Linked DNA regions of Homo sapiens: all the other regions are linked to region 2. Evidence: promoter capture Hi-C in human tissues and cell types (Jung and others, 2019). All regions are on one chromosome and are shown on one strand. Each heading gives the region's core, a stretch centred on a gene start or on the middle of the fragment in contact. The rest is flanking DNA. Distances are from core to core; before and after follow the strand shown.

Region 1 (5,182 bases), core at 577-3,076, 39 kb before region 2:
TTTATATCAGAACCCCCCAACATGCTCCCTCCACTTGCTGTGTGCCTTTCCTCCTGGCTCCTCTTGAATCCACTCTTCTGCCCCCTCACCGATGCTGGTAATGACAAGGTCCCAGGCACCTCTCCATTACTAAAAGCAACTGTGCGTTCTTCATGTTCCTCTTCCCAGATCTACCAGCAGCATGTAGCACAACCTCACCCTCATCTTTAAAATCCTTCCTTCCTGTAACACCTGAGGCCCCCACTTTCTGGCATTCATCCTGCCTCATGTTTCTTCCTTAGTCTTATTCTGCCCCAACATCACCCAACTCGTAACATGGGAGTAGCACGTGGCCCCGGGCTTGGACTTTCTTGTTGTCCTGTCTTCTTCCACTTCCTTGCTGATTGAATTAGGCAGAGTTCTCCAGAGAAATAAAACCAATAGGATGGATGCATAGATAGATGATAAATAGATAGAGATAGAGATAGATGGAGAGATATCTGTTACAAAAAATTAGCTCATGTGATTATAGAGGCTGAGAAGTCCCATGATCTGCAGCTGTTACGCTGGAGACCCAGGAGATCCCAGGCTTCAGTTCCAGTCTGAAGGTAGCAGGCTTGAGGCCCCAGTAGAGCTGGTGTTTCCATTTCAGACCAAGGGCAGGAAAAGACCACTGTCCCAGCTCCACAGAGAGGCAGGAGGAGGTCCCTATTCTTTGGCTTTTTTGTTATGTTCAGACTACCAACTGCTTGAGTGAGGCCCACTCACATTGGGGAGGGCAATCGGTGAGTTCAGTCCACCATTCAAATGTTCATCTCATCCAAAACACCCTCAGAGACACATCTGGAAATAACACTCAATGAAATGTCTGGGCACCCCATGGCCCAGTCAAGTTAATGTAAAATTAGCCACAACAATCCACTTCTTGTCAACGTGGCACCCGTACACATCTCCTCAAAGCATACTTAATCTCAAAATGAAGATAATCATAAGGTCATAATTCTGCCTATCATGATATAACTGTCCTGAGTACAACCAAAAATGCACTAGCTCCTTCCCGCAAAAGAAAGCAAAGTCCTTGGATGATGTTTTTGCTTCTATTTGATATCCCATGATTTAAATAGTATAATGTAAAATGAACAATACTTAATACTATGATATAAAGTCAATTCATCATCTGTTACATAAGGTAATGAGAGAAGAGAAAACATATATATATACACATATATATAAATTAATCTTATTAAGGTCATAAGGAAAAATTATGACCTTATTATTGTCTTTATTTTGAGATTAAGTATGATTTCAGGAGATGTGTATGGGTGCCAAGTTGACAAGAGTTGGACTTGTGGATAATTTTATGCATCTACTTGACTGGGCCATTCATACACACACACCACACACACACTCTCAAACACACTCTCACACACATTCACATACACACACACTCACACTCATAACAAAATAAGGATAAAATCCTCATGAGGAGTACAGCCCTTTTTCCTGTAACTGGTCCCATGGTCATAGCTGGTATTTACAACACGTCACTGGTAACTGATCCCATGGTTATAGCTGGTATTTACAATGACTTTCTTCTACTACCCACTCTGTGTTCCCTTTGCTGTTAGCAAGCACCTCAGCTGCTCATGGTTCTTTACCTATAGACTATCTTCATTCTTGAAGGTTCTGGGCCATTTGTAGTCCTACCTGGATTAGGTTGAGTTTTCCACTGACCTTAATCACAGGGCAGGGTAATACTAAGATACAGCCTCAGAAATCTCCTGTATTCCAGACACACTCTTGCTTACCTCCACTGTGGAGTAGTATAGGCCAATTTCTTCTTAGAAGCCAGGATCCATCACCCCAGCTGCACAGGGACTCTCTTCTTTGCATATGGATTCAGAAGCAGAAGGAGCCCGAAGTTGCAGAGCATTGGTCTTAACTTCCAGTTCAATGGAATCAGTGCTGTGTCTGCCGGTGGAAGCATGCCTTTCTTTGCATTCTTTGTCTTAACTTCCAGTCCAGTGGGATTAGTGCTGTGTCTCCTGGTGGAAACATGCCTTTCTTTGTATTCTTTGTAACTAGGACCTCTAGGTTAGCAGAGCATAAAGTTGGAAGCAAAAATGTTGTCAATGGGTCACTAGGGGTGATAGGGAGTGCCACTCCTATTTCCACCTCTTGATTCCTGGAGCATGATTATGGCTCTAGGAGAAAGGGTGCCATTATTGGACACAGATTCAGAACACACACAGCCTTCTGGAGAACCCTGCCCCAGCCCACAGGGTACTGCCACCTAGCTGATGCTGTAACTGCATCTTCTAAAGCCATTCCGTGGTTCCATCAAGCCAGCTGCCTCAGGATGGTAGAGAACACAGTAAGACCCTGAATTCCAGGAGCATGGGCCCATCGTTATACTTCTTTTGTTGTGAAGTGAGTTCCTTGATCAGAAGCAATGCTGTATTCTGTAAGCTCATGGATGGTAGGTTTGGCAGAAGTGTTGCATTCAGGGAAGGAAGATGCAAACCTAGAGTATCTATTCAAATAAAGACAAAATACTGCCCCTTCCATGATGGAATCGATCCAATGTAATCCCACCCCAAGTAGCTGACTGATCACCCTGGGAGTGGTGCCACATTGGGGGCTCAGTGTTGCTCTCTGCTGCTAGCAGATTGGCCACGCAATGGCTGTTGCAGTGAGCAAAAGTCCGTGTCACTGAGCCCATGCATATCCTCCATCCCTGCCATCAAGGCCACTTGGTTCCTGAGCCCAATAAATAATGACAGTGGGGACTGGGGAAAGAGGCTGAGTGGTATCCACACGACGGTCATCCTAGCCACTTGATTACTAAACTCCTACTCTGCTGAGGTCACCCTTTGGTGAGTGTTCACATGTGATGCAAATGTCTTCATGGTTATTTTTTTGCCCACTAAGAGAGGTTTATGCACATATCTTTCCCCTAAATTCTCTTGTTCCCAATTTTCTAATCATGTTCCTTCCAAGTTCCTGACCATCCAGCCACACCATTGGCTACAGCCCATACACGGATATGTAAGCATACATCTAGAATTTCTCCTTCTAGGCAAAGTGCACAACCAGATGCACTGCCTGGAGTTCTGCTGACCAGGCAGGTTTCCCTTCACCATGTGCTTCAGGGACGTCCCCGAAAGGGGCTGCAGTGCTGCTGTCGACTTGTGGGTGATGCCTCTGTGTAGTGCAGAACCATCTGGAAGCCAGGCTCTAGCCTTGCTTTCTCTGTCAAATGATCACAGGGAACTCTCAGTGGGGACACAGGTGCAGGCTGAGACAGAAGGCAGGGGAGCAGGGGTGGAGACTGTGGGCATTTGCACCACTTCTTTATATAACTTACTTGTGCCCTCAGGACCTACTGGTGCCCGATCCCATGCACGCCCCCTTCCATTTGAGGATGGAGTGTCACTGTGCATGCTCAACTTTACGGCTTGGCGGGTCAGATACTCTAGATATGAATTTTCTGTCCCCGAATGCAATGTTTCTGCCAAAACTATCACCCATGTCTTTACAGAATGCCTTATCTGCCATCATGGTATTCATGCAGCATTGCTTCTTATCAAGGGACTCACTTCACAACAAAAGGTATCATAAGCTTATAATAATCCACTGTCATTTTCCAAGAGCCTGTCTTCTGCACAAGCCAAACAGAAGAGTTGAATGGAGATGTGGTGGGAATTGCTACCCTTGCCTCCAAGCCTTCGATGGTGGCACTAATCTCTGCAATCCCTCCAGTTCATGAAGGGCAGCTCAGATCACATAGCAACATGGTGGGTCAACAGCTTAGCATTCAGGCCGGGGGCAGTGGCTCATGCCTGTAATCCCAGCACTTTGGGAGGCCAAGGCACATGAATCACTTGAGGTCAGGAGTTCGAGACCAGCCTGGTCAACATGGCAAAACCCCATCTCTACTAGAAATACAAAAATTAGCCAGATGTGGTGGCACGCACCTGTAATCCCAGTTACTCAAAAGGCTGAGGCAGGAGACTTGTTTGAACCCGGGAGGCGGAGGTTCCAGTGAGCTGAGATCGTGTCACTGCATTCCAGCCTGGGCAACAAAGTAAGACTTCATCTCAAAAAAGAAAAATAATAGCTTAGCATTCAGTCTGCTAGGGCCAACTAGCAGGCCAAGAGCTGGTACTCCAAAGGGGAATAATTATTCACAGAGGATGACAAGTCTTTGCTCTAAAATCCTAAGGCCCTGCACTAAGATTCACCTATAGGGCCCTGTCCAAGGCTCCTCAGGGCATCCCTGTCTGCCACTGACACCTCAAGCACTGCTGGCTCTGCTCCAGCAAGTGGCCCAAGTGGCAGAGCAGCGGACACAGCAGGCTGCACCTGTTGCAGTGCCTTCTCCTGCTCTGGGCTCCACTCAAAACCAGCAGTTTTCTAGGTCACTCAGTAAATGGGCTGGAACAGCACACTCAAGGAAGGAATGTGTTGCCTTCAAAATCCAAGTAGGCCTGCTAAGCATGGTGCCTCTTTCTTGGATGTAAGAGGGGCCAGATGCAACAAGCCTTTCTCCACCTTACAAGGGCTCTCTTGACAGGCCCCACACCACTGGACCCCTAGAAATCTCACTGACTTAGAGGGCCCCTGAATTTTTGTCAGATTTATTTTCCACCATTGAAACATAAATGTCTCACCAATAACTGTAAGGCGGTTGCTACTTCTGGCTCACTAGGTACCACCAGCACAATGTCAATGTAATGGGCCAGTGTAACATGTGGAAGAAAAAGACGACCAAGATCCCTGGAAACAAACCATGACACAGGGCAGGAGAGGGGACAGACCCCTTCAGTGGGACAGTGAAGGTCACTGCTGGTCTTACCAGCCAAAAGCAGACTGCCTATGAACAGAGGTGGAGAAAGAGGCTCTTGGTAGATCAGTAGCTGCATGCCAGCTACCAGGGAATGTGTTAGTTTGCTTAAACAGAGAAATCATATCTGGTATAGCAGATGCAACTGTAGCCACTACCTGGTTAAGTTTATAAGAATCCACCATCATTTTCCAAGAGTCTGTCTCTGCACAAGCCAAACAGAAGAGTTGAATGGAGGTGCGGTGGGAATCACCATGCCTGCATGCTTCAGGCCTTTGATGGTGGCACTAATCTCTGCAATCCCTTCAGGGATGTGGTGTTGCTTCTGACTTGCTTTTTTCCTTTCACCAATACTTT
Region 2 (4,898 bases), core at 276-2,775:
GGATAATCTTAGAATTAGTGGTATGTAGTGTTTATTTTCTTTTTACTTTAATTTTCACTGCAGTTCCCTAACAGTGATTCCTATTTACTTAATCATTTGCAGCTGCTCTGCTCACCTGTTTTTCTGGACCCAGGAGCAGTCCCTCAAGAGTTTTATTATAATTTCCTTCTAAGTCCTTAAACCAGGAGGAATGTGTTTAAGTGCTTAATAGATTCCCTGGGCTTTGGAATTTTAAGGAGAATTCTGAGAGTAGCCCTCCTTCAGGAAAAGGTGCATTTCTTTCCCGTCTTTCCGTGGCCCGACGGACATCACTTTCCTGATAAAATTGTGTGGGAAAGGTTGCAATAGCATTGCCTTTGCCTCAGCAGCCAGTCCCAGAACTTGCTGATACAGCCCCCTCCCCCAAAGTTCATAGCCAAAGCAGTGGGCTAGACATCGGATGAAACCTCAGATTTGGATTTTCTGTGTTTTGTGCTTTTCCCAATGCCCCTGACAAGTCAATTGATTCATTGTTCTTGAACAAATCTTCACTCTTCTGGCTTTCTGTGTGAGACAGAATTAGGGCTTTTTCCTGTAAAGTTATAAGCCAAGGCTAAACTATGTCAGCAATGTTGTCTGCAGTGGATATTATCCAGAGTCTGGGTGTGCAAAAATTTCCTGGTTTCCAACGTAGTCTTCGTGGGTGAGTTTACAACCTCCACAAGCCCTGTGCTCCCCGCACAAACACCTGAAATGCTTTGACAGAGCTGTTTAAAAACAGCCACATGTGTCTGTGAATGATGCCCAACCACATGCTCCCCCGACTTGAGAGGATCAAGGCTACAGCCCAGGTCAGACCCCGGATCTTTAGGACCTAAATTCCCCCATCCCTGCAGTGGATAACCCCGTGTAAAGATGCCAAAGGCGGGCTGCCCCCGGCGCAGCCTTTCCTGGACATGTGTTCCCAGCTGCCTTTGCTGGAGCGCCGCTGATCCTTCAGCACCTCTGAGAGGCAATGTTCTGGGCTGGACCAGGGGGCCTTAGAGGGCAGAGGTCAAGGAGAACCCCGGAGTCTGGGGACCGGCCAAGGCTTGGCGTTAACCTTTGTGGATGAAAAGTCCCGCTGGGCTGATCCTGCGCGGACCGGGCCTGGACCCTGGGGCGTGAGGAGGGCGCGGTGCGTCCCGTGGTTGTGCTTGGAAGCCCCCCGAGGGTGCGCGCGCGTGGGTATGAGTGCGTGCGTGTGCCTGGGTGTGCGTGTGTGTAAGTGTGCACGTGTGTGTGTGAGAGTGCGCGCGGGGAAGGAGGCACAGAGACAGCCCGGACAGGCCACTGCGCAGCCCTGGTGGCCCCCGCTCCACCTCTCGCTCCGCAGACCCGCGCCAGGGAGGCCTCTGGGCCGCAGCGGGCACCGGAGCGGAGCGGGCGCGGCAGCGGGCGCTGGGAGGTGGGGCTGGGGGAGGAGAGGGGGAGGGAGAGAGGCGGGCGGGAGGGGAGGATCCGGGAAGCTCCGGGGTATTTGACAGGAGCGAGGGCGGACGCAAAGAACGCGGAGGACCTCTGGGTGCCTGCAGGGGAGCTGCTCCAGCCGGGCCGCCGGGAGCGGTGGGGAGAGCATCGCGGAGCCGCCCCTCCACGCGCCCGCCCAGCCGCGCTCGCCCACTGGGCTCTCCCGGCTGCAGTGCCAGGGCGCAGGACGCGGCCGATCTCCCGCTCCCGCCACCTCCGCCACCATGCTGCTCCCCCAGCTCTGCTGGCTGCCGCTGCTCGCTGGGCTGCTCCCGCCGGTGCCCGCTCAGAAGTTCTCGGCGCTCACGGTAAGCCCGGGCCCGCGGGACCTGGAGCTCAAGTGGTGCCGCCTCTTGCAGCCGGCCGGGTTCGGGTCCCCGCGCCCCGCTCCAGGCCCAGGCGCCTGGGCACGGGGAGCAGGTGGCCCCGGGGGCCGTGGAGCCTTCGCCTGCCGGCGAGGCTGGAGCAGGTAGGACGCAGCGTGCGCGCCTGGGACCCGGCTGGGATGGGCTTCTGGGGACCCTGCCCGCCGGGGTCCTGCTGCGGCTGCGACGGGCTCCTCGGGTTCCACCCGGCTGGGACCCCACCTGCCTCGGGGGCTCTGACCCGGCTGTGAGAGGATCCTGGGGTCCTGCAGACCCCGGACAAGTGGGAGCTGCGGGTGCGCTCGGGTGTCCCGCACTCACTGCTGGGCCTGAGCCTGTGGGGAACCAGGTCTGGGAGCGCCGGCGCCGCCCCGCGGACTGTCCCAAGGCCAAGACAGACCCGCCGGGACTGGGCGCCCACCTCGCCCACGGGGACCCGGCCTGGAGCGTGTTCTCCCGACCGCTTTGGGCTCGTGCGCCGCGCGGATCCCGGGCCTCTCGCCGGCTGAAGGGGCTGCCAGTCGTGGGCCCCACTCGTGGGTCTGACTCTCCCAGAGACCCTCGTAAGTGAGCCGAGGAAGAAGCAGATGAGGTTACAGATGATTCTTCACGGGCCTGAGTGTTATTAGAGAAGCGCTTTCTTCCCTTCTCAGGACAGAACTGGAGGCAGGCGGCGGCTCCCCGCTCTGCGGGGCCTCTGGGTTCTTCCTCGTGGCAGGGATGCTGCGCTCCTGAGCGCGAGGGTCACCGCGGTTGACCGCTGTGTGTTTTTCTTTCTGAGCTGTAACTTCTATGCGACAGCCTTGGCCCGGCCAACGCACGCGGTGTCAAACGAGGAGCTATGTAGAGGGGGCTGAGCCAAGCCCCCGCCGGCCAAGCCAACCCGCGGCGGCCGCTGGGCCAAGGCCGGGTGTCTGCAGCCCCCAGCTCCAGCCGTCCTCCTGGGCTTGCAGGGTTTGCAAACCCATCATTAATGCAATCGCCAGAAACGAAAACATTCCACTTAAATGTGTTTTTGAACAAGTGTTTGAGAAAACACGAAGGTAGTGAGAACGCCTCTGGTGGACAGCCGTCTTTTTTAAGTGGCCGGGGACTTGTCCTAAAGGTGTTTATTGTATTGAAAATAAAGATGGTTGAAATAAGCTGTGGTCGGTTCTGCCTTTCAGCAAATTTAAAACAGTCATGTGGGCATCTTTTCTTTTTCTTTTTCTTTTTCTTCGTCTTCTTTCTTTTGCGTTTTAGCAGTGTGAAGGATGGTTTGTGAGTTCATTGCTCATACCTCAAATTCTTCTGCAGCAGCCCGGGGTCCCTGCCTTGTGTCTCACAAATGACTTGTAGATTAGAAACTGCTAACTGGGGCTCCAAGGAGGTTTTCACACACTCAGGCTTTCCCTGAAGATCCTTTATCTCCCCAGAGGGGGCCCTCAGAGGATACTCACTGGAGGCATTCATGTATATGCACATCTGTACATGCATCTAGACATAAATATACTCACGTATACACTCACAAAAAGACCCCCCACATACTCTTAAAGCACACTAGAGGAGACAGAGAAACTAAGGCCAATTCTCCAAAGGAGATCATAGCATTTTCTTCCAGGACTGTAGCAGCAGGTACCTACAGTTGCCACGGATTTTCAGATTTTCTGAAAGCGCAAAAAGTAGAGACTGCCATCTGCCTGCTGCCCTGTGTGTGTGGGGGGTGGGGTTGGGCCTGTTGGTCCCCCCTGGAAGAGCAGAATCAAGGTAGTTAGTAATTAGAACAGTTTAAGACTCGGCAGGTTTTCTTGTCTTCTCTCCCCTGTCTCATCTAACTATTTACTTGAACCCTCTCACCTTTTGCCCCCTTGAGGTTGCCCCAAGGATGTCTTGGGTTGCGGTGAGACCCGCTGCATGTGGGGTCTCTGTGCAGGAGCTGATACCCCACGTGGGCTTTGCCCTGTTGGCTGCATTCCCCAAGAACAGTTTGCCTGAAATTTACATTTGCAAATAAAATCAGTATCCCGAAGAAAAGATTAAAGCCATAACACATTTTGGCACACTTCTTCTCACCCCACCCCCAGTCTAGAAAATCAAGAAGTAGTTGAGTTACAAAGTAACTGAGGCAGGCCTGAAATCTGACTGGTCGCTGGGAGATGTGAGATGTGCAGGATTTTTCAGTGTGCTCATCTCTTTTCAAATTGCCTTCTGGTTTTTGGAAATCTCTTTTGTCTCCGGAGGCCCTCATTCAAAGAAGGGCCTTCTCTCCCTACGATTTGCATCCTACCTACTTTAATAAATCAAGAGGCAGTATCAGTCCATGCAGTGGGTGGGACCCACAGCTTAGGGTCTTGCTGGATGTGTGACTTCAGGCAAGTTACTTAATTTCATAATCTTCAGTCCCCTTATCTGTAAAATGAGAATACATAATCTCTTTCAAGCATGTGGTGAGGATTAAAGGTAGGGCTTTTAATGCGCCTACTATATGTGAGTTCTCCAGCTAACATTGTTTTGATGGTGCCCATGCCGTGGGTCCGTATAAGAGAGTGCTATCAATTGATACCGTAATTATCAATGCATATAGCGTTGTGGCATTAAGGTGTGTGTGGATTCAACTTTGCAGTATTTTCACCTGCCGCAGATTCTCAGAGCACACCACTTGGCTCTGGGTGTATCTGTGGACTTTGTGGGAGTAGCCATGTGGGACTCTATAGACCAAGGAGGAAAGCTTGCCTCTCTGCCTCCTTCTACTCCATTCATTTCTTCTCATCTAGAAGCAGGGAAATATGTCAGCCTCTCTGGGGCTTTCAGTTTGCCATACCTGGCTTCTCAGGACCACGCATTTGTCTTACTCACCTATGGTGAGTGTGCTTTCTTGGTGGGTCCAGCATTGCTGGTGTGCTCACCTCTGCTACTTTATGTTTAAGATTCAGAGAATCCACTTTGTCTGGTAATGATCTCTCTTCTTTCCACCAAAGTCATTCTTTAGAAATGGCACCATGAGGCCCTCTGTGTCTCTCATTGTGACTTTCTGATGGCTTTGCACAACTTCCTGGTTATTGCTCA
Region 3 (5,079 bases), core at 2,319-4,818, 52 kb after region 2:
TCCCCTTGGATCACAGTTTTAGAGTGAAATATATCAAATCGTCTGGGTCCCCTTGGATCACAGTTTTAGAGTGAAATATATCAAATTGTCTGGGTCCCCTTGGATCACAGTTTTAGAGTGAAATATATCGAATTGTCTGGGTCCCCTTGGATCACACTGTTTTAGAATGAAATATATCAAATCGTCTGGGTCCCCTTGGATCACACTGTTTTAGAATGAAATATATCGGGGAGGAAGACAGAGACTCCAGCCATCATTCTTTCTTTGAAGGTCATGATATTTTCTTGTGTCTCGTCAAGGCGCGCAGCATACAAGGCATTGTCACACCAGGTGGGCTCCAGAGGGGACCTTTCACTGGGCAGCTGACTCTCACTCACCCCTTGATGGCCTGCACGCCCACCCATCTTCAAGTTCACAGTGGCAACTCGGAAGCAAAGTGGTGTGCCAAGTGAGATTTCAGGATTTAGCCTTGATAGGATCTTAGAAATTGCTCCTTGCAAGCCCCTAGGTTTATCAGTGGATTGAGGGGTAGAATTGAGATTTTTAAAATGTCATGTGGACACCTTGGGTGTTTAGAGACAGCAGGTCAGTGCACCTGCCATGATGCCAGGGCTCAGGGCTCCTTGGAACAACCTTGACATCTATTGGGACATCTCCTGTCTTCAAATCCCTCCATTCTGACCACACGCTTACTGTGGCTGAGTCTGGGCTGAGGCTGCATTTGGGATTTGGATTCCCGCTCAGCACTGAGTGGGGCAGCAGGTGGAGGTGAGCCCTCTGTTGCTGCCCAGGTGTGCCCATGCATGACTTGAGACACGGCAGGGCAGCTGGGGGCAGCGGGGGCGGCTGGTCTCACTCATTAAAAGGTGACCCCGTAGGACTCTGGAGAGGTCATTCCTGATGGCAGGAAATATTTCTGCATCATCTTGTGCAAGGGGGCAGCGGGGGCGGCTGGTCTCTCTCATTAAAAGGTGACCCTGTAGGACTCTGGAGAGGTCATTCCTGATGGCAGGAAATATTTCTGCATCATCTCATGCAAATCATTGCACATGCTGCTCACGCCAGCCTTGCTTCCATGCTCCTGAGTAATGCCGTGTTTTTGATCTTGGTCTTGTGGAAGCTGGAGAATTTGAACTATGAGGATGCAAGAGACAGATGATGCTGAACGGACATTAACTTTATTTTTATTAAAATCACAAGTTAACTCTCACAGGTGAAATTTTGGATGCTAAGATAATGCAAAGATGTTAGTTTCCATAACATCCGAATCATGGGATGAGAGTCAAGAGAAGAATTAGGAAAGGAGGTCTCCAAGACCTCATGGCAGTCTGAGAAGTTTCTGGCGGCTGGAAGGTGAAGACTGCTTGGTCTCATGATGATGTCACCCATGGAGCATCTTTTAAAATAAGTATTTGGGATCAATTCAGCTGTAAGATCCTCCTGGGCAACTCCCACCAGTCAGCCAGAGCTTCCTGTGCGTATGTAAAGATCAAAAACATTATTGATAATAACAATAAACTATTTAATAAAAATTTAAACCAAAACATTAATTTGATACTCTATTTAAAGTATCTGCATGAGCTGTGGGAATGTGTCTACTCTTGTCAGACACAGATACAGAAGAGCCATTGAGTTGACTTAATTGTGATTTTATTTTGTTATTTTTAAAGAGATTGCTTGTTGGCCGTATTATAAGTTAAAATTAAGCGGGAACCTTAACTGCAGAAATGATAAACCCCATGGAGAGTGAACTGTGCTGTTCATCATCTTAACTTCTCTCTGGAATAAGTGCAGGTATCGCTAACTACATCGAAATATTATTTTTAACCATTTTCGAGCCACCCACACATTCTCCCGCATTCTTCTTTTTGATACATTTCATTTTCTCACTTTAGAAGGAAGTCTCCTAATTCTGAATTTCTTTGAACATGGCTCAGTCTTACTGGTCTGCATCTGGCATTACTAATGCACTTAATTAAACAAAATAATGTCTCCCCAATTTTTTATTCATGGAAGAGAAATTACAGGTTGTATCTGAAGGGAATATTTCTCTTGAAAGGAAAAATATAGGACTTACCTATCTAAATGAGAAAAGTCAGTTGTATTTAAAATGGAAGTTTCAATTTGCCAAGCACATGAGAATACCGTTGGCTGGCCCCATCCTCTCCAAGATACGAGGCACACACACACATGCATGATGCTCATTTTTAATCCACAAGACACCCACCTACCTTTCCATAGTTTTCAGTTCACCTTCTATTTTCAAAGCAAGAACTATGCAAACATAAAGGAAGCTCTACCACCTCTCAGCCTGCTAGCCCTAGGCCAAGGGGCAAATTCGCACAACAATGGGTTGATCAAATCTGACCAATCTCAACTTCACAAAGTCACTCTTACAGGTGTCACTCAAAACCAACAACTCAGTCCAGTGATAAGGGTGAAAAAGTGTGGCAGAAAATATACACACAAGCATCTGTTACGAATTTCATAGTTATTACCACATGATTAAATAAAAAGTATTGCAGTGTGAGGTAGGTTTCTCTAAATCAACTTTTCTTTCAGTCTCAAGATGACGTGACCTACGAGGTTGATGACATTTTAGAGAGAGCACTGTCTCACAGGACAAAATGTGGATGGTGACCAGAGGCACATACCTGTCCTGACGCTCTCCCACCACCACAAAATAATTTGTCACTCTGAGCAAGACATTGCATTTCTCTGGCTTTAATATTGCCATCTATAGAGTACAGAAATGTGCCTTCTCTTCCTTGTGTTGTAGGTTTGTTAGGATCGAATGGAATCTGTTTCAGCATCACTGCATGACGTCGTAAGGCTGACTTTCCTTGAGCTCTCCATACATTGTGAAGGTAGCTTCAAAGGAAGAGTTCACAAATTTGAATGAAGACTAAATTGTTGGAATGTTTAGATATGCTCAAAAGTGATTTTTTTTTTTTGAGACAGAGTCTTACTCTGTCATCCATGCTGGAGTGCAGTGGCAGGATCTCAGCTCACTGCATCCTCTGCCTCCTGGGTTCAGGCAATTCTCCTGTCTTAGTATCCTGAGTAGCTGGGACTACAGGTACACGCCACTACGCCTGCCTAATTTTTGTACTTTTAGTAGAGACGAGGTTCCACCATATTGGTCAGGCTGGTCTCGAACTCCTGATCTCAGGAGATCCACCTGCCTCGGCCTCCCAAAGTGCTGGGATTACAGGTGTGAGCCACCACACCTGGCCTCAAAAGTGATTTAGTTAAAGAACTGACTTGAACATTTATCTGCATAAGTATGGATTTGTTAAAAACTTAATTCCTTTCCCTTCATAATCTTACTTTGTACAAGATCTTCTGTAGCTTTGCATGATGATGAAGGCAAATGTTTTGTGAATGATGTATGGATGGCAAAGTAAGTGACAAGTTTCCAGAAGCGAAGGAAAACTGTTACTGTTCAGAAAATGATGTTCAAAGTACAAAGGCCAAGATATCTTCAGAATGGAAACCACTGTGATAAGATCTGGCTGTCTAATAGTATTGCAACTTAAAATTATATTAATTTGATATATTAATATCAACATTTTAGGGATATTAAATCCTAGGTAGTTAAAATTAGCTTTTGACAAACAAGTTGACATTGCGGACATGATTTTATTTTTCAAAAAAGTGTATAAGTCCTAGTTTTTCTTTTCTTAGTTAAATGACAGCCAAGAAAATAAATTTCATCTGAATATTTATTTCATCAGACATATTAGTTTTTAACTGTCTTTATCTTTTCTATTTTAATTGGTTCTTGCTATTCAGTGTCTGCCAAGAATAACTTCCAGAGGAGTTGTTCTTCAAAAAACAAAATTAGATTCTATGTGGTAGCCACCTTTCATAAGTGCATTTGGTAACCTTAAAATATTATGAGTGTGGGATCATTCCGATGCCATTGGAACGATCCTGAAGTCTTTTCTCTGTTTCCATCATAAACCTCATTGTTTTCTTGGTTTGACATTATTCCAGGCATATTGGTCTGAATCTTGGCAAGTGTATTAGATGGTTATTCCAGATGTTACTAAGAGCAGTTTTCCTTCTACACGCTCTGAGTGCAAGCATTCTTCATGACATGGCAAAGCTAAGAGCAGCTTTCCTTCTACACACTGTGAGTGCAAGCGTTCTTTAGGACATGGCAAAGTTTTGGTCTGGGCTCAGGTAGTTCAGTGGTAGGGCAGGCATGTGATAAGCTGGTCTCCTTAGGTTTCAGCAGACACGCACCTAATGCGCACCCAACCAGTAAATACATGAAAAGAGTGAATACTTTGCCTCTCTTCTTCCTTCTCCTCTTTTTCTGAATTTAACACCTAGATAGACTTCTTCTTGGCTTTAGCCGAAACACTTTACTAGGGCTAAAGTGCCCATCAGAATCTTTTTGGATAAATGAACACACACAGCAAACATTTTCTTCTATGCATTTTCACAGCCAACAAGATAGGGGATCACTTCCTAAGCACGTTGAAAATGAGTGGGCAGTGCCCTTTGACTTACGCTGCTTAGAGTGCCACTGATTTCCTGGTAAGCCTAAGACTTGGAGGAGACGTGAATGGAGAAATGCACCTCTCCTCATACTGGGGTTTTGCGATTCTTTCCCAAAGGGCTGGGAGTGAGAGTGAACCCTCGGCTGGAGCAGCCCCATCCCAGCAGCTGAAGGGCAAGGGAGGTGGCTGGGAAGGGCGGGCACCACTTCGCTCCCAGCTGCTGGGATGGAATCACAGCCTTGTCTAAGTGCACTGGGCCTGGGAGGGCTGGGATGGACCATCCTGGCTGAGGCCTCCCTCTGCCTGCAGTTCCTGGGGAATAGGGAACCTCCCTTGGGCCGGGGTGTGCTCACCTCGCTCGGCCTTGCCCCTTCCCTCATGCCTGCATCCTCCAGGCCCCGCCTCTGGCACCTTCCTGAAACCCGCAGGGAACCTGCTCACACCATGACCCTTCTCAGAGGGTCTAAGGTAAGAGCAAAACAGGGTGGGCTCAGGACACAGACACCTCCTGGCTCAGAGTGGTTCCAGGAAAGCCATGCTCCTGCGCCCTATGTGGGCTCCTGCAGAC
Region 4 (5,394 bases), core at 1,350-3,849, 56 kb before region 2:
AATGAGTTAGCTTTGCTTCTGAAAACACCACTGGAAGGCCACCATCAGTGGCGTATTTTATGGACACTCTCCACCCCCATCCAGCTGTGGACACAGGGCCGTAAGCCTCAGTACCCCTGGAAGGCCACCATCAGTGGTGTATTTTATGGACAGCCCCCACCCCCACCCAGCTGTGGTCACAGGGTACTGAGCCTCGGTACCCAGGGAGAACATGGGGCGGACTTCTCCGTGATCTGATCAAATATTTGGTCAGCTTCCAGGACAAGAGGTGACCCAGCAGATGGGGTTTAGACACTGCAATATTGGTGCTGAGGAGACATTTTGCACGGGCCTTCAGAAGGAAGGAGAAAGTGTGGACCATTTGTGTGTGTGTGCATGTGTGTGTGTGCGTGTGTGCGTGAGTGTGTGCATCCATGCATATTTGCATGTGTGTATATTTGCGTGTGTGCATGTGCGTGTGCATGTGTGCGTGCGTGTGTGCATGTGTTTGTATGTGCATGTGCGTGTGTGCATGTATGTGCGTTTGCATGTGTGTGTGCATGTGTGCACGTGCATGTGTCTGCATGCCTGCATGTGTGTGCATGTGTGTGCATGCGTATTTGCATGTGTGTGCGTGTGTGCATGCATACATGTGTGCGTGAGTGTGCATGCATGCATATTTGCATGCGTGTGTGCACGTGTGTGCGCATGTGCGTGCGTGTGTGCACGTGCATGCATGTGCATGTGTTTGCATATGTGTATGTGTGCATGCGTGTGTGCATGTATGCGTGTTTGTGTATGCATGTGTGCGTGCGTGTGCATGCGTGCGTGTTTGCATGCGTGTGTGTGCATGTGTGTGTTTGCATGCGTGTGTGTGCATGTGTGCATGTTTGCATGTGTGTGCATGCATGTGTGTGCATGCATGTGTGTGTGCGTGCGTCTGTGTGCATGTGTGTGCGTGTGTGTGCACGCGTGCATGTTTGCGTGTGTGTGCGTGCGTGTGTGTGCGTGTTTGCATGCATGTGTGTGCGTGTGTGCATGCGTGCATGTGTGCGTGTGTGTGCATGCGTGTGTGTGCGTGTGTGTGCATGCATGTGTGTGCGTGCGTGTGTGCGTGTGTGTGCGTGCGTGTGTGTGCATGCGTGGCAGTTTTAAGTTACTAGTTTTTAAAGTCAGCACATTTTCATTGAATCAACTTGGTCAAAATCTATTACAGAATTTGGAACCCATTAAAGGAAAGTTCAGTGAGAAGCCCGTGTCTTCTCTTGGTCAACAATGGAACTTCTATGGAAATACTTAGGCAAAGACTTGAGTTTCCTTTGACCAACTTCTGGTGTTGAATCTGCTGAAGCTTGATAGGAATTTGATCATTCTCGGTTAGTAGTTTTTTTCTGGGTGGAATTGCTTTTTCACTACCTGTGTGTAAGGGGAGGAATCATCTGTCCTAAGGACCTGGTGGAAGCTGAAAGGGGCTCTGTTGGTTTCTACATAAAAGTGAAGAGTAAGTCTGTCCCTAAACTGCCTGGGCAGAAGGCCGGCTTCTCCCGGCAAAGGCCACGTGACACATGGAGAATTCAACAGCAACACTGAGTAAATGTGTTGGAATCTCACATTTTAGTTTCCCAGTTACTGACTGTGCATTCCCACATTTACAATTATTGAAGTACGTTCAAGAATGTAGAGTGTGAGCTTTATATAGTCTTGAGCAGTGCCCTGCTTTTAAGAGTGAATTATTTTTTAAATGGAAATGAGACTCATCTCTCCTGGATCTGAAGCTTGCCGTCAACTACCAGGACCTGAGACTCCCCCCGGCGCTTCCCATTTTCCTCAGGAGGAAGCCCTGTTGTTTCAGTGGGTGTGTGGTGAAGGGCAAGTTCTCCTAACGTGAACGTCATTAATGAAAGTTCTGCCATTTTTCTTCTTCTTTGTGAACAGCCCTTACCTGGTGAGCTGGGGAAACGGGGCCACAGGGGAGTCAGGCCTATGGGGGTGTCCGGACAGAGGGGCCGGGTGCGTGAGCCTTCCGGGGTGCCTCCGCCAGGCTTGAGCATTCTGTTAGTCCGGGCAGAGAGAACATGCTTTTCTAAGTCAAAAACCACTCATAAATCATGGGTTAGGAGTTACAACATCACCACAAATCCAGCGCTGCTCAGAGTTAAAACACGTCCTCGCCCCGCACACGCACAGGCTCTCTCTGTGCCATCACCATCCATCTGGTCTCCGGGGCCCATTTCTGGAATGTGAGGAGACAAGAGTTTGGGGCGCGCTTGCCGCTGTCCTCACGGACTCCTGGGGCAGCCCCAGGCACCCGCGAGAACCCGCCCCCCCAACCACCGGCCAACTTGGAGGCAACAAAGAGTGAATCAGAAATGCATGGCTGACATTTCCCTGAAAATAAATATATGCTAAAAAGTTAAAGAGAAATGTGGTTGGCCAAATGCATTTGGGGTTTTAATCAAACCAAAGTTATGTGAAAAACAGCCTGAAATACTCAAGTCACAGAGGCCTCAGGCGAGGGTCCATGAAGTCCCCCTCGGCACTCGTGTGTGGGTGGGACAGGGCCGGTCCTGACTTGGCCCCCTCCTTCCTCCCTGGGGCTTCTTCCCGGGCGCACAAAGCCAGGCAGGGTTAATAATGTTTATTACGTGCTTTGATGAGACGCTGTCTATTTGAAGCAACTAAGATCAGTTTATATATTGAATCTGAAATAAACATACCCATATGAAGATAATTTTTTTTCAAATTTTCCTTCTTTCGAGAGGCCCAATATAATCTTTTTGCTGCTTTACGGAGACTGCACACGTCCTTTGAAAGCATTGAGGAGGGAAACAAAGCTAAGTGGCTGGTGGAGCTGCCCCCGCTGAATCTGGGCATAATTCCATCTCAAACGAAAGTGGGCGGAAGAGCTATGAAAACAATTTTGGAAAGGTGGCCGGCTGTGAATCAACACCTTGGGGAATATTTAGGAACCTCACTGAATTTGCCTGTGGACATAGCAACTGAGTGTCCCAGCGCACATGTAATATCGTGAAGTTGTCCTGTCCCGAATTCTGATGCACAAGAAAGGGCAGGAGCAGAGGCCTGCGTGGTTCGTGGATCGCCCAAGTGCCAGTTCTGCCTTTGCTCTGATGCCAAACCAAGGAGGTCTGCATTTTCATCTGGGAAGGGGATGGAGTATCTGTGCCCCTGGCAGGACCATGTGGAAAGCCTTCTGCTCCACCCGTGGGAAGCCAGACCATGGTCTTGCTCACATTCTGAGAGACAGGGACCTTTGGGGATTGGCACACAGAAATAATTCGGATGCATCCTCCCAGCAAGCAGGGCACCTCTGTGTCTGCCGGTGGGTCTGGCTCTGGCTTTGCAGCTGCAGGTCTTGCAAAGCCATGGGAGCTGCCTGCCAAGCTGCTGGTAGCTGGAGGCCTTGGCCGAGGTGGGCTGCAGTGCATGTGCCCGCACAGGTGTGCCCACCCAGGTGTGCCTGCTCAGGTGTGGGGCTTGTCTCACACACTCCTTGTGCCAGTTTTTCCTCCCAGCTGGAAGTCAACAGGGACAAATAGCCCCAGGCCCCTTAAACTGGAAACTGTCAGTCACCCATTCCTCCTGGTCTGAAGTGTGTGAGAGAACATGGTGCTTTGTACACACATGTGAATGTGGACAGCATTGCATGTGTGTCCCACGTGTCCCATGGAGGCTGCTGGGCTGTTACAGCCGTTCTTGCAGAAACAAGCTGAATTCTTGCTTTCAGGTTATAAAAAAGACCTGGCACTGCACTGGAGGTTGTGGGACCTTCTGCTAACATTTGGCCTGGGGATGCTGGAAGATCCCTAACCCTTGGTGAGACACCCTTGGAGGCTGGCTGAGGGCACCACCTTCCTGTGAGTCCCTACCACAGCCTGGCAGCGCTTCCAGCCATCTGGCTGGGCTTGCCGCACACCTGGGCTGATCCCTGTCCCTGACTGGGAGCCACACTTCACCCAACAGCTTTCCTTTCTCTTTTAGGAGGGGTGAGGGTGGAAGGAAAGACAGGTTTGATTGAAAACCAGGTGGACTTTTGCAGATTTATTTTTTAATTTTGCATTTCTTTGAGTCACAGAATCCAAAAGTAGTTTTGTGGATGCAAACACATAATTAAGGCAAACAGCAGCAAAGGGGACATGAGGGGTGGAGCCCCCTCTCCACCACTGTTCACCAGCATTTCTGTGACCCAAGGGGACGTGAGGGATGGAGCCCGCTCTCCTCCTGTGTGCACCAGCACTGCTGTGACCATTGGTGTCATTCTTCTTTAATGGAGGGTCCTGTGCTTGGCTTCAAAGGCCTCCTCCAGCTGGGCCACCTCAGGCAATTTCCTGCCTGGTTTTAACTCATCATGTGTGTGTATATCATGCGTGTATGTGCCATGTTGTATATGCAGGGCATGTATGTATATGCCACGTGTGTACTCGCCAGGTGCATTTACGTCGTGTGCAGATGCCGCATGTGTATACACCACGTGTGTATACATGTGTGTTCATCGTATATATGCATCATATACATTTAAACTAAAGCCCCTGCAGGCATGTGCTGGTCCACCCCTGCCTTGAGTGCCTGCACACATCCAAGTTCAGGGCTAGTTCTGGGCAGAACTGGGGTCTCGGGGGCTTACCCCTGTCAGGGCTCCAGGGCTGGGGAGCCTTTCCCATCCTGAGTTTTAATTCAGTGCAGGAGGTCCTGGAGGTCTTGTGTGCAGGCTGGCCACCTCCTGAGCATTGAGTCTTCAGTGGGTGACGTTTACTGAGGTTCCCAGGGTGGGACTGCGCAGCCACCATTGGTGAACACAGAGCAGGACCTGCCCTGAAGGAACCGCAGGGGATGGGGCTGTGTCCGTGCCAGCCTTGCAGCTCTCTTCCTCTTCTGTCCTCAGAGGCCTCGCAGGGCAGTGGACGGCCAGGGCAGTGTGAGGAGATGGGGACACATGTCAGCAGGGGCCGTTGGGTGGAGGAAGCCGGCAGGATGCAGGCGTCCCTCCATCTCAGCTGCCCGTTGTGTAGAACTGGCCCAAGCCTGGGGCCTTCTCTCTGTTTAGCCTCTGTCCCCAGCAGAGCTTCTCAGGCCTGTGGTTCCACTTGTCCACTGAAGGGGCTCCATCAAGCCTGGAGGTCCCCAGGGAGGAGAGGGTGGCCTAGCTCCGGCCACCAGGCCTGCCTCAGAAGGGAGAGCCCTGCTTTATCTATTTTGTTTGTTGGCATTTCTGGGCAAGATTTTTTTTGAAGAAAGAAATCTGAGTCTGAGGGTAAAAAAAAAAGTTTGGAAACCTCTACTTTAGGTTTTCGATGATGGCTGTGTACTTACTGTGCTGAAGTAAATGCTGCTTTGCTCCATTGTCGTTCAGCTCGGCATCGTCAATCGTCGCTCTGTTCTCGTGACAGCTGCTGGCCT

The links. The method cuts DNA at HindIII sites, captures the fragments that hold promoters and counts their contacts. A contact is called where the count stands out against the background at its distance.
Region 1: a contact is called between a fragment that was not itself captured here and the fragment with the promoter of SMOC2 in region 2, in 2 of the 25 tissues and cell types used here (bladder and stomach).
Region 3: a contact is called between a fragment that was not itself captured here and the fragment with the promoter of SMOC2 in region 2, in 2 of the 25 tissues and cell types used here (pancreas and stomach).
Region 4: a contact is called between a fragment that was not itself captured here and the fragment with the promoter of SMOC2 in region 2, in 5 of the 25 tissues and cell types used here (H1 embryonic stem cells, aorta, bladder and 2 more).

Annotation. Positions count from the first base shown.
Region 1 is chr6:168,400,458-168,405,639 of GRCh38, forward strand. No RefSeq gene overlaps it. Among named protein-coding and RNA genes, the nearest start is that of SMOC2, 38 kb to the right of the region's middle. The HindIII fragment of the contact is 5,480 bases long and covers 1-4,566 here.
Region 2 is chr6:168,439,659-168,444,556 of GRCh38, forward strand. It overlaps SMOC2 (SPARC related modular calcium binding 2), which reads left to right and starts at 1,526. Exons shown (of 13, transcript NM_001166412.2): 1 at 1,526-1,796. The coding sequence starts at 1,713. The HindIII fragment of the contact is 15,076 bases long and covers 1-4,898 here.
Region 3 is chr6:168,490,101-168,495,179 of GRCh38, forward strand. The region is part of intron 1 of SMOC2 (SPARC related modular calcium binding 2); the gene reads left to right. Among named protein-coding and RNA genes, the nearest start is that of SMOC2, 51 kb to the left of the region's middle. The HindIII fragment of the contact is 4,906 bases long and covers 1,116-5,079 here.
Region 4 is chr6:168,382,702-168,388,095 of GRCh38, forward strand. No RefSeq gene overlaps it. Among named protein-coding and RNA genes, the nearest start is that of SMOC2, 56 kb to the right of the region's middle. RefSeq lists enhancers at 338-839, 840-1,339. The HindIII fragment of the contact is 4,135 bases long and covers 533-4,667 here.